Linked DNA regions of Homo sapiens: region 2 is linked to region 1. Evidence: promoter capture Hi-C in human tissues and cell types (Jung and others, 2019). All regions are on one chromosome and are shown on one strand. Each heading gives the region's core, a stretch centred on a gene start or on the middle of the fragment in contact. The rest is flanking DNA. Distances are from core to core; before and after follow the strand shown. Region 1 holds the start of RAP1GAP (RAP1 GTPase activating protein). Region 2 overlaps ECE1 (endothelin converting enzyme 1).

Evidence for each region. The method cuts DNA at HindIII sites, captures the fragments that hold promoters and counts their contacts. A contact is called where the count stands out against the background at its distance.
Region 2: a fragment that was not itself captured here is called in contact with the fragment with the promoter of RAP1GAP in region 1 in 1 of the 25 tissues and cell types used here (lymphoblastoid cells).

What each region holds. Positions count from the first base shown.
Region 1 is chr1:21,666,460-21,673,078 of GRCh38, reverse strand. It overlaps RAP1GAP (RAP1 GTPase activating protein), which reads left to right and starts at 3,722. Exons shown (of 25, transcript NM_002885.4): 1 at 3,722-3,825. RefSeq lists enhancers at 1,803-3,002, 6,521-6,619 and a silencer at 3,651-3,800. The HindIII fragment of the contact is 12,626 bases long and covers 1-6,619 here.
Region 2 is chr1:21,271,776-21,278,524 of GRCh38, reverse strand. It overlaps ECE1 (endothelin converting enzyme 1), which reads left to right. Exons shown (of 19, transcript NM_001397.3): 4 at 5,614-5,826. Among named protein-coding and RNA genes, the nearest start is that of ECE1, 15 kb to the left of the region's middle. RefSeq lists enhancers at 1-815, 816-1,794, 3,940-4,439. The HindIII fragment of the contact is 7,958 bases long and covers 1-6,067 here.

The DNA of each region.
Region 1 (6,619 bases), core at 2,473-4,972:
TGCACCTAAAACCATTCAGTCCCCCACAAATGAATCAACCTAATTAGTGCTAGACTGTTGTAGCTCCCTGAGAGCAGGGCTCTGGCCATCTTACCACTGTATTCCCACAGCGGCCCGCATGATACATCCTCAGTAAGGAAAAATGAATGACTACTTTGGAATCTGTTAGAAGTTTTCCCGTGGCCCCTTGGGGGAGAGCTCTTTTTACTACTTTGGTTTGACCAGTACTGTCCCTACCTTCAGGCTTTTCTTCTTTGTCCTCAAAACAGGGACTTCCTAACTATTCATGATCCAAAGTCCTCTAACCCCAGGGGTAGTCTCTGTCATGTCTGCTGCACCAGGTTGGCAGCCTCCCACCCAGACGGGGGCCGCTGGCCCTTCCCTGATGCGTGTGCCCTGGCGCCGACTGCCACTCTTCATCCTGCCTTGCTGTGGTTAGAGTGGAACTGTCCTCTGCTCCAAGCCGCCCCTGAAGCCCACCCTCCTTGCCGGCCTTTCCTAGACCTTACCTGTGGCTCTGTGGACAGCACACCTTGAGGACTTGCTGCTTTGGGGTTTTCTTCCCCTACTTGCTCTGGTGGGCAGTTCCTATCTCAGTTTTTCTCCCATTTGATCTGACTGGGAAGGAGTGGGCGGGCAGAGATGGGGAGTTATTTCCAAGAGGCATCATTCCCATTTTAGGACTGTTCCCCCCTCCCTCACCTGCAGTCTCATGCATTATTTGGAGTTTACCGTGGTGCCACCCATGTTTTCGTTCTCCAGCCTTTTTGGATGCCAGATTTTTAAAGCCAGCTTTCATTTCTCAGTGATAGGGAGCACAGAGATGGTGGCTGGGTCGCAATGTATTAAGTGTCTGAGACAAGGCTTGTGCCCAGAGGCAGCCATGCGTGAGTGGTCAGTCCTGAGTGGTTTGGATTGAAATAGGACAGGGAAAGCAAAGCTCCGGGGCCTTTGTCCAATCTTCCCCCTCAGTAGCTAGGCTGCATGCCAAGCTCTGTGCCCAGCCCCCTACGGCACGTGCTGCCTCCTCGCCAGGGGCCCTGACAGTCTCAGAATGGTGCCCCCCAGGACACATGGGAGATTATAAGCCTCTTGCATTGAGGGAGGTTTTCTGTAAAGGGGAAAATGCTGTAATTGAAAAGCTCCTTGATTATAAAGAAGAAATAGAGACGCCTGGCATAGAAGAGACTTCGTTCTTTGGTCTGCTCAGCCAGGGTCGGGGACATTCAGTACCCCCAGGCTAATAGGCTCTTGAGCTCTTAAGGACCTTGGAGTCTGCAGGTCCAGACTCCAGAAGGTTATGGGACCATGAAGAGGTCACACAGCTGTACCCCTTGGCTTGCTGCATTTCTGCATCTCCAGTGCCTCCATCTGCCCCCTCCCTCCAGCTCAGGTGGGACACCTTTGTCTCCACTCAGCACTCTGGGATGTACCATCAGCAATGCCTGGCCAGAATTGAGGGTCTCTGTCTTAAAGCGTGGAGGAGAAAGGGGCCCTTTTGGAACAGGAGTTAGGGAAGCAAGAAGCATGAAGATTGTGCTCAGAATTGAATTCAGGGAGCAATGCATAAAAAAGCGAGAGGATGGGTAGAGAGATGGTGCTTAAAAGGATCCTGGAATCCATGTACTTCTGAGATCTGTGAGCCCCGCCCCTGCTGAAGATGAGCCAGCCCCACCCAGTACATGCTGCCCTTGAAGGTCTATAGGCATTCTGCTGGCATTTCCTAAGTAGGATGTATTTGACCAAGCATCTCCCAGGACCAGAGCCCTGCAGGACATACCTGTCTAGGGCAGTTGCTATGCCCCACAGTCCCTTCACCATCATCCCCAGAAGCGCCTCGGCCAGCCTCATTCAACTTCTTGCCTTTTTATTACAGTGTTTGAGCCAACTATATAGTCCTGGTGTATTCCTAGGCAGGAGATCAAAGGGCCCCCCGGGTTGGGTGGTCCATGAGTGAGCATGTGATACCGCAGGAGTCTTCCTCCTGCCCTGACAACTTGCCTTGTACTACCAGTGCTGCTCAGGATGTCTGCAGCCACGAAGCTTCATTATAAATGCAGGAGCTCAGGCTCCAGGCCCACTGAATCTGAATCTGAGTCTACAGACCGCTCCTGCACTCTTAGAAGTTTGAGAAACCCCCCTGGGCTGGGGTCTCTTTCCCATATACAGCTAGGGAAGCTTGCTGGAGGGAGGACTGAAAAGAACAAGTGCCTGATCTACCTTCCCCTCTGCCCTTTCACAGGTGGGTGGATGCGTGGGAAGAGGGTGGGGCATTTCCTGCTATTCCCCCTTATTCACCTTTTCTCCACGGGGATTAGAGTCTTGACCGGAAAACATGGCTCTGGTCCCCAGCCCCTATGGGACTGAAAACCCGGAGGCTTGCATGTCTCAGATCCTCCAGAGGCTGATGTAAGAGTTGCTGAAGACCTCGGATCTTTCCTTTTGTGAAATGCAGCCCATGTGGCCGGGAAAATAGTGGGAGCTGGAAGTAACAGTTGTGGTTTTAAGCACACAGTAGATGCTCAAGAAATATATTGAGTACATGTCTTGGACTTTCCCCTCCCTAAATATTATCTGTCAAGTGGGCCTATTGGACTTGTTGACCTTGGAGGGCCCTGTCGGCTTGACCCACCAATTCGAAATGGTTGAGAAAGAGGTCTGTCTTTGTACCTTTTGCAGCCTGTTTTCCCAGTTCTTAGAACATTGGGGTGAGATCCAGAGATTTCAGAGATCCCCCTGGAACACGAGTGTTCTGTGACGAGTTCATGACCTTGGAGCCACCAACCATACCCCTCACCCGTTGTCCCCAGTTCTGGCCTTGCCGACCCACTGCGTGTTTCTTTGCTTCATGTGGGCTGTTCCCCGGGGAGGGAGCTCAGTGGAGAACAGAAAGAGGTGTGGGTGAGGGCTCCCCCTTGGTGGGGAGTGGGGCACAGGAGCCTCAGGCTCTGTTGACCATCAAAGAAGGGACTCGAGTGGGCAGGCCGCTCACTTGCTGTGGACCTTGGGCAAGTCTCTAACTCTCCCTGGGCCTTGGAAGTCAGGCCGAGGTGATCTCTGCCGCCCCCTCCCTGCCTGGGTTTTCACTCTTGTTCTGATCCCACTCTCTTCCGGGTGCCTCCCTTCCACTTCTCCGTAGCCTGTGGCTCCCCTCCCCACACCCGCCCTGGGCCCGGGTTAGGCTGGGGCGGGGGCGAGCTGCCCAGTCCAGAGACAAAGTCCAAGAGCCGCGAATGGGCTGGCGAGGGTCAACCGCGTGGCCTCTGCCAGGAAGCGCGCCGAGCGCCCGGGTGAGGAGGGCGTCAGCCAGGGCACAGCAGCTTTCTCGCCCAGCGAAGCCTGTGCGCCTTCCTCCCGCGCCTGCAGACAAGCGGAGCCCATGGGGGCCGTGGGCCCCACCTATCCCGACGTCTCCACTTGATCCAGAAGTTGTCCCAGTCCCCTTGGAGCATGAGCTGTTGCCTGGACAGCTGGGCTGTCGCCCAGGTTCTGCCACTGTCTAGCTGTGTAACCTTGAGCCAGTCCCTGCCCCTCTCTGGTCCTCAGTTTCCCCACCTGTAAAATGGGGGCACCGAGAACCCTCCTCCAGGACCTGCGGCGGGGCGGGGCGGCAGGGCGGGGGCCTCCCCGCCGCTCCCGCGCCCGCGGCTTGGGCTCCGCAGTGAGTGGGGAGCGGCGCCGGGGAAGGAGCGCTCCGCGGTCATGTGACGTCCCCCTCCCCGAACTGCGGCGGCGGCGAGCGCCGGCCGCATCTGAGCAGAGCTGCAGCGGCGGCCGCGGGCACCAGAGTGCCGAGCCCAGGACGCCCCCGGCCCAGGCCCTTGGGTGAGTGCGCCCCGCCAGGGCTGCGGCCCTGGAAAGGGGAAGGGGACAGAGGTGTCCAGACTCCCGTCGGCTCGCAGCGAAGACCCCGCGCGGGCGGGCGGGGACGGAGGGTGGGGGCGAACGCGTGGGGGACCCGGGTCTCCAGGGGCGAGGGGTGGGCGCAGCTGGGCTCGCGCAGCCCGGTCTTGACAGCAGCTGGAGAAGTGGGGGGAGGCCTGGACTGAGCCGGCTGAACCCCCAGCCTGTTGGACTTGGTCCAGGCCGCGGCCAGGGGGCTTTGGTCCCACCCCCCTGGGTGGGTGGGGAGTCCAGTTTTCCGCCCACCTCGAGGTGGGGGCGCCTGGGGTTTAGAGGAGGGACTGTGGGAAGTGGGCGCGTTTCCTCCATCCCTGGGGAGGGGCCCAAGCCCTAGCGCCCCCCAGAGGGTGGCGCTCCTGTCCTCAGAGGAGGGAAGTGGGGGCCTCAGATCAAGGACCCTGAGCGGGGAGGGCGGTGATGTCCTTGCATCCCCAGAGACAGGACGCATTCCCCTGTCCCTGACCCCCGCGGCAGAGCGGGGCACACGCGTCACGAAGTTGGGCGCCCCCTCGTCGCCTCCCCTGGCTCGGCAGGATCTGAGGACTCGGTGGGAATTCACGGGGCGGTTTCCGTGCCCTGCAGGGTTTGGTGCCAGCTGCGGGGCGCCTGGGCTTGGGGAAGAAACCTTGTGTACGCACACCTGCACACACACACAGTCTCCGGAGGTGAGCGGCCCCCTCCCTACCATAACAGACCCCAGCCTGTGCATGCCCTCGGAGTCCTTGTTGGGGTCATAGCACAGGCCCGGTGGTGGGGTCAGGAAGAACATCCACTGTTCTCAGGGCTCATTGGCCTCTGTCCCCGGGCTCCATTCCCCTCCCTGCCAAGTCAGAGGTCAGGCCCCTGGGGCGGCAGGCAGGAAGGACACTGAGGGAAGGGGCACTGAGGCAGGAGGGGCACTGAGGGAAGCTGGCCAGGTGGAAGTAGGAGAGAAAGGCAATGGGGGTGAGATGGTACCACTTCCTCCCCATATGAGGCTCTCAGGAGGCTCCTGGCCCCCCCTGCACAGGTAGTGGTCCCTCCTTCCTGAGGGTGTTTGGGGGAAAACGCTATGGTTGGGGCACTGGGGAAGGTTGCCTCGCAGATGAAACAGAACATTGGCCAAAGGTGTCCCTGAATGGGCTTCTGGACTGGCACAGGGCCCTGAGGGCTGTGGCTGAGTGGGGAGGCAGTGATCAGGTCCAGCTGGCCATGGGGGCCCCCCATTCCCTTCTCCATGACCTCAGCCTCACTCTGAGAGCCCCCAGCAGCTGGAAGGTCTGGTAAGGGGTGCGTGTTCCTTGATGGCCTTGGGAAGGGTTCCAGGGTAATGATTAATCCTCAGGTGGCACGAGCAATTTCCCCCTTCACAGCAATATTTCAGGGCAGGCGCTGAAGCCTCCATTGCACAGGTGAGGAAACTGAGGCTCGGAGAGGCTAAATGAACTGCCTGAGGTCACCTAGTCACCTTCAGCAAGGTCTAGAATCGTGGTACTCTGACTCTTGATGGGAGAAGATCTCCACAGCGGTGGAGAGGAGGAAGGGTGAACGCCGTGGTGGAGTGGTCCATGTGGACCTGCTCCCCTTTGCTGCCAGGAGGTGAGGGTGCCTGTGGCTGGAAGCTGGGTCAGGTTGAGGAGAGGGTCCAGAGTCCTAGGCTTGCCTTGCCACCCCTTCCCATGGAGGGAGGGTTGTCCCGTGGAGCACCATAATGGTGCTTTCACCCTGGGACCTTCCCAGCTTGCTTGGGCAAAGCCCTCTCCTCTTCTCTTCTTCCCAAGGTGCCTGCCTGGCAGGGGTCTCAGGAGGCCCCTCTCCTGGCTCTAACTACCTTCCACCCTTAGGAGACAAGAAGGATTCTTCCTTTGGCCTCTTGGAGGGCAGCAGGGAGAGAGGTCTCTGCCACTTAGGCCTCAGGCTCCCACAGCAGGGCCTCCACCTCCCTCTCACCTGGCCCTGCCCCTGCCCTGCTGTCAAATTCTGGGGCCAAGAGGCCCTTTGAGGACTCCTCGGGCAGATCTGTCCTCCATGCTGCCATCTGTCTACGGAGGCCTTTGTCCTGGCTGTCAGAGGCTGCTGAGCAGCCGCATGTGCTGTGCAAACAACCGAGACCTGAGCACGGCCAGACACAAACGCAAATACAGTTAGACTGACAGATACCCTGAGACCCAGACACAGGAACACACGGGCACACCCAGGCCAAGACCCCTGCCCCCGACTCTGCCTGACACACAAGCACTGAGAGTCACACCATCCAGATGCTGGCACGTGTGTACACACAGAGAGACGGAGGTTGTCAGCAAGGAGAAGAGCCTTTTCAGAAGCCCTCGTCTTCTGTCGTCTGCCTCCATTATCTCCTCCAGGGTGCACACATGGTACACGCGCATGCAGGAAGAACACGAGGATGCCCTACGCCCTTAAAAATGAACCTGGCAGACACGCACATGCACCCACCCACACCCAGGCCATCATGGGTGCACACACGCATGAATTACATCAGCTTCCTGCGTGTGGGATGTTAATGCTTCATCACCCGGGGAGGGGAGTGGAGGCCCCCGACCGTCCCCAGCAAAGCCTCCCCTTCCTCCCTCTTTTCTGATTCATGTGGACCCAGCTTGACTGGCCCCAAGAATCCTGGGAAACTGCCTGGTGCTTCCCACTCAGTGGACCCTCCTCTCCTGCCTCCCCTCTGTGTACATACCCAGCGGGTTGCCACGGGAGCCTCTCCCCAGGCTGC
Region 2 (6,749 bases), core at 839-3,338, 390 kb after region 1:
CAGGCTACTGGGCTCAAGCCCAGGCTCCACCTCCCTTTGTAATCCAAGTACGCTCCAGAGCGCATTACACCCCCAGGAGAGCTGCCCTTCCAGATCCAGCTGCCCATCGTGTTCCTTGATCGGTGCCTTTGTCCCACTTTGAATGGTGATACAATTGGGCCACTCTGATCCTGCTGTAGGGGTCTGAGACTGGTTCTCTGTTTCCAACTAAGTGGATCTAGCCAGCTGCCTCACACAGAGTTGATGCTCAGTAAACACTTAAGAAGTGCGAAGGGGTGGATCCAAGTTAGAAATAAGAATGGGGAATTAGCCAAAGCCAGGGCCTCTCAGTCCCCTGTGCCCCAACATCTATTCTTCTGATGGCAGATGGTTCACCTAGTTGAGCAGCCTCTGGGGGCTCTGCTCAGCATCCCACCCACTGACTCGGTCGCTCACCCCATGAGAGAGATTAGGAGCTTTCACAGGATCTTGGAACATCCACTACAGGCTGTGTGGAGCCTTCCCTCTGTGAAGTTGCTGGTCTGTGAGGGTGGCCACGCTGCGCTGGGGTGGGGAGGGGACTCAGGGGCCTAGAAAAGAGCAGGGCCTTCATCTGAGCATTCTTCCATCCCTCCTGGGTAAGGCACACAGGTATTCATTCATTCCACAAAGATAGGTTGTACTTAAGAAATAATTGCTTGATTAGTTAACTATAATGGTTTGTAGGTGTTTTACCAAATGTGCCTGGCTCAGCAGGTGCTTAATGCATATTTGACTAATTAATGACTAGTTTTCAGGCCCTTAACCAGATGTGCTTAGCATAGTGCCTGTGCCATAGGTGTGCAGATAGTAAAATGAATAAATTAATGTTTGAATGAACGAAGGGGTAGGAAGGAAGATCAGGCTGGGAACAGCCTTTCTCTGCTGAGTGTATGTATATTGTGTGATCGTGTCCTGGTGTGTGTGTGTGTGTGTTTGTGCCTCCTCTGCTAACAGGACACAAGCTCGTCATCCTCTCCTGCCACTGCCATGTCGCCTCAGCCTAAATCAGCTCTAGTTCTGAACCCCCTCCTGGTCAGTGTGGACCCTGGCCAGCACGTCTGCACAGCTCTTGGCTCAGAGCAGCGGGAGCTGGCCAGACTCCGGCAGCCAGTGTTACCCTGAGACTGCCCCTCGGAGCTCCAAAGATATGTCTTCACCAGAAACCAGGGGGGAGTCCCCACGGGCCAGCTCCTGATGATCAGACCCAAAACATTTCTGTTGTTATTGCCCAGTGGGGCCCCTTGGGAGGAATCCTGCTTCTGCCTCTGTTGTGTCCCTCTCTGGGTCTCAGAAGGGTTTTCTCCAGCCTGGACCTGGGAGAGGAACATTCTTCCCCTGGAGTGGAGCTGGGCAGAGTATCAGGTGACCCCTGAGCCACCTGGGAAAGCAGTGACCACCCCAGATATTAACAGTAACCTCATTACCCAGGAGCAGGTGCTGGTGCTGGCCACATCTGAGCAAACATCAGGCCAGTCAAAGCAAATCTGGCCGGGCGCAGTAGCTTACGCCTGTAATCCCAGCACTTTGGGAGGCCGAGATGGACAGATCACCTGAGGTCAAGATGTTCGAGACCAGCCTGACCAACATGGTGAAACCCCGTCTCTACTAAAAATACAAAAATTAGCCAGGGATGGTGGCGCACAACTGTAGTCCCAGCTACTCAGGTGGCTGTGATGGTGCACACCGGCTACTCGAGAGGTTGAGGCAGGAGAATCACTTGAACCTGGGAGGCAGAGGTTGCAGTGAGCCAAGATGGCACCACTGCACTCCAGCCTGGGCGACAGAGCGAGACTCCGTCTCAAAAAAAAAAAAAAAAAAAGAAAGCAAATCTGATGATTCTGAAGGCCAGCCTCTGGGAATGTCTGGACACATAGTACGTGTTTACTTACCTTCCTGCTATGCTTCCTTTCCAGAAACATGCTGGTGCTTTGCAAACAGAGGCAGCAAAACAAACAATACATTCTCCAAGAACATATTTTAAAGAAAGCATTCTACACAGTTTTGAGGCCAGGCTGTCCAGATGAGTGTCTGTAAATTAAATCTAGGATCTGTTTCTGCTTTCTCAATTGATCACGCATGTCCCAACGGAAAGAAATGTTTGCTGCCTCTGCAGGTGGTGAACAAGTGCTGAATAAGGCCTTTCATTCATTCGGTTGTTCATTCAAAAACACGTATTGAGGCCGGGCGCAGTGGCTCACGCCTATAATCCTAGCCCTTTGGGAGGCCGAGGCGGGTGGATCACCTGAGGTCAAGAGTTCAAGACCAGCCTGGCCAACATGGTGAAACCTCGTGTCTACTAAAAATACAAAAATTAGCCAGGCGTGGTGTTGGATGCCTGTAATCCTAGCTACTCAGGAGGCTGAGGCAGGAGAATTGCTTGAATCCAGGAGGCAGAGGTTGCAGCGAGTCGAGATTATGCCACTGCACTGGGTGACAGAGCAAAAACTCTGTCTCAAAAAAAAAAAAAAAAAAAAAAAGCACGTATTAAACAGCTGCTAGTTGCCAAACACAGTACTAGACAATGGAAATATAAAAACGCATAGGATATTGGCCTGCCCTGAAGTTCACATTCTAGTAGGAGAAATGAACAAGGAGATGGTCGTGACATAGCACAGTAGCAGAGCAGGCACCCAGGCCGCTGAGGGGCCCAGAGAGGGAAGGGGGTCGATGAAGGTTTCCGTAGGAAGAGGGGGCCTTAGATGAGGGGGCCTGGAAACCATGAGGTCATCAAAATGCATGAAGCACTTCCTGGGCCAGGAATATTTCATGAAGTTTCTGCAAACCATTAAATAGTTAAATAATCAAGCCATTGCTCCTTAAGCACCTCGTAGGTCCCTAGCCCAATGTCCAGCAAAGTAGGCACTTAGTGAAGAACTCAAATTTCTGAGACTGCTTTATTTATTTATTTGAGACAGAGTCTCACTCTTGTCGCCCAGGCTGGAATGCAGTGGCGCGATCTTGGCTCACTGCAATCTCCGCCTCCCGGGTTCAAAAGATTCTCCTGCCTCAGCCTCCCAAGTAGCTGGGATTACAGGTGCCCCCCATCATACCTGGCTAATTTTTGTATTTTTAGTAGAGACAGAGTTTCACCATGTTGGCCAGGCTGGTCTCGAACTCCTGACCTCAGGTGATCCGCCCACCTCGGCCTCCCAGAGTGCTGGGATTACAGGCATGAGCCACCGAGCCCGGCCTCTGAGACTGACTTCTGGGACTAGTTTCTTGTTTTGTTTTTAAACCCAAGTCCCTGTGTGATAACAGCAAAAACCTTTATCAGTTAATTAATCAGTCTGTCTCTCTCTCACACACAGACACATACACACAGATTCTGATGCGTCTTCCCGCGTTAGGCTCACTCTCAGCCTGTCTCCTGGGCATCTCCACCAGCCAAGATGTTGTAAAATTTTCCTTCCTGTGGTTCGATGTGTGAAAACAATAGGTATTCTTTTCCTTCTCTAAGTATGGAGTTATATCGTAATACTCAACAGGCTCTTTCAACCTACATGGAAATTCTTTCCCTGCCCCATAAAGATTCTGGTGCCTTCCCCGAGTTTGGGAGTGGAGCATGCAACTGTGATTAAGATGATTTGATTTAGAGATATTTAAAATGGCACCATCACCCCCACCATTTCCTTTCTCTGTTTTCATGTGTAATGGCTCCATAATTTTTTTATGGCACACCTCTCGGCTGTGAACAATAATTTTTAATTGTTGTGTGATTATCTCAAAGTCAGATCACCCTGATTTTCCTGCTGTTGTGCAGCTGCTCTGAGCCCTTTGTCAGCCACCCATCTGAAGGACTATGTGTTTGTCATCAAATGTTACTAATTCCACAAATGAACCTCTGCCCACTGGCCTTATGTTCCTGAGTGAGGGGAACACTGCCCATACTAGCTCGTGCGTTCTTTGCTGCTCTCTAAAGACTGGCCTGAAACTTCAGACCCTGAGACTTGAGGAAGCTGAGCCCCCGTGCCCAGCCATGGCCATCATCACTGTGAAATCTGTGAAATTGGTCCTACCTTTCTTCCTAACTTTTAGATGGATAAACTGAGGCATGGAGCGATGAGGTCACTTGCCCAAAGCCCCACTGGCAAACGTAGAAAGCTGGATTTGAACCCAGGTCTAGTGGCCTCCAAAGCCCACCCTGCCTCACTGCCTCCCTGTGTGGTGGGGAAACGGATCTCAGCAGTCAGGCTGCACCAGCCCCTCGTGTGACTGGCAGAGAGGTGGGGAAGGAAAGCAGAAAAACACAGCCTTGGCATGGCTGGACCAAGACAGGCCTGGGCCCAGCTCTCAGCTCTCCGCCCTCCCACATAGCTGGGCGACCTTGTTCCGTTCACTCCCTCAGTTTCCTCTTTAACTAGGGACATGATGCCTGCATCTGATGACTTGTAATGAGTTAAATGAGATCCTGAATGTGTGCAAAGTGCCCAGTACACGGCCACGTTCAGTAAAGTCCCTTTGGTCATCAGCACAGCCTGGGTAAACGGACGATGGGGCTGGGCCTGTGATTCTCGATCCTGCACAGTCAGCTTCATGTTGCTGCCTCAGGCCAGGCCTCTGCGTAGGCCACCCAGGCTTTGGGTCCTTTGGGAGAGCTCAGCCGCCAACCTTGAGGCAGGGCTCTGGCCCTTTCCTCTTGCCTCTGGCAAACCAGTCTCCTCGCTCTTATCCCCCAGGATTGAGTGCAATGGCTCGATCTTGGCTCACTGTAACCTCCATCTCCCGGGTTCAAACGATTCTTCTGCCTCTGCCTCCCAAGTAGCTGTGATTAAGTCGGCCTCCCAAAGTGCTGGGATTACAGGCGTGAGCCACGGCACCTGGCGTAGCCTTTGGGTTTTTGAGGATTCCCTGAGGTCACTCACTCTCCTGCTTGTACGTAGGAGTGATTTTTCCTATTTCCTCCTTCTATTTCTAATAGGCTTTCCTCCTTCCTATGTCCTGTCATCCATACTGTCTACATCACCCTTTTGGCACATAGTAAATGTTCAGTTTATTTTTGTAGAAAGGAGGACAGACATTTCTCCTACTGTTCCATTTTGATTTATGTGTATATCCCCAACTGAATTGTTAGCTCTTGGATTAAAGGACTCTGCCTTTTTATGCCCAATACCCCAGTACCCTACACACACACACACACACACACACACACACACACACGCACACACGCACGGGCACACACTTTCACGCAGGTGCACACATGCACACACACGCACTCCATACTCAGCAGAGAACCTGGAAGGTAGTCATTATCTTGCTGAATAAATGAATGCATGCGTGAATGAATAAATTTGTTGAGCATCAAGGAATAATAAAGAGTCAATGAATATTTATGGAGGAGAAGGTTGATTAAGAGAAACACCTGGGTTCTGGGTACCTTTTAGCCACAGGAAGGATTTTAGACAGCTGAGTAGAAGTCTTGTGTTATAAGCGGAAATCATTTCTCTGTAGGGGTCTAGTGACCGTCCAGTTCCAAATCTGTGTGGTCAGGGCCAGGGTGGGACATGTGGCCCCTGGGCCCCAAGCCCCCTTCTCTGCCCTCCCTGCTTCTTCCCTGCCTGCCCTTCACTGGCCTCTTGTCCTTAACCCTTCCAGGATCCCCCTCTGTGTGCCTGAGCGAAGCTTGTGTCTCAGTGACCAGCTCCATCTTGAGCTCCATGGACCCCACAGTGGACCCCTGCCATGACTTCTTCAGCTACGCCTGTGGGGGCTGGATCAAGGCCAACCCAGTCCCTGATGGCCACTCACGCTGGGGGACCTTCAGCAACCTCTGGGAACACAACCAAGCAATCATCAAGCACCTCCTCGGTAAGCATCCAGCATGGAGACCAATAAATGGGCCACAGCGGGGAGCTGTCAGCTGGCCCAGCCAGCTTCCCAGCTGCGCCTGCTTAAAGGAGGAGCTTGGCAGAATGGGCCGGGCACGGTGGCTCACACCTGTAATCCCAGCACTTTGAGAGGTCAAGGTGGGTGGATCACTTGAGGCCAGGAGTTCAAGACCAGCCTGGCCAACATGGCAAAACCCTGTCTCTACTAAAAATACAAAAATTAGCTAGGCATGGTGGCGTGCGCCTGTAGTCCCAACTACTCGGGAGGCTGAGGCAGGAGAATCGCTTGAAACTGGGAGGCAGAGGTTGCAGTGAGCCGAGATCGCGCCACTGCACTCCAGCCTGGGCAACAGAGTGAGACTCTTGTCTAAAAAACAAGAAAAGAGGAGCCTGGCAGAATGGAAGACCATAGACTTGGGAGTAGGTGAAGCTGGGTTAGAATGTCTGCCCTCACTCATTGTATGATCCTGAGTAAGTCACATATCTCTGAACCTCAGTTTCTTCATCTGTAAAATGAGACTAATAAGACCCAAGGTACAGAGTTTTGAGAACTAGAGAGCACATGTGTAAAGCATTAGCATGGTGTGTGTGGCATGTAGGGTGTACACAAGAACTGGTGGCTGTGGTCGTTACTTTTGTGGCTTCAAGCTTGGCGTAGCTTTTGACTAGTATTGACTGTGAGTTTTGAAAGTTATGAGCAAAAGGGATCGAGACTGAACACACTAGATCAGATTCTAAGGTTGTGATCCAATGAAAGTTCTAACAACAGCTTATCAGAGGATTAGTTATTCAGTGTAGGCGGGAATCATCCTTAGCCTCACGGTGATCGGGCTTGCACGATAAGCCCTCTGGTCAGAGTTCTCTTTGCACTTCACTAGGCCTTGGGCACCTCTAGTTCACCCC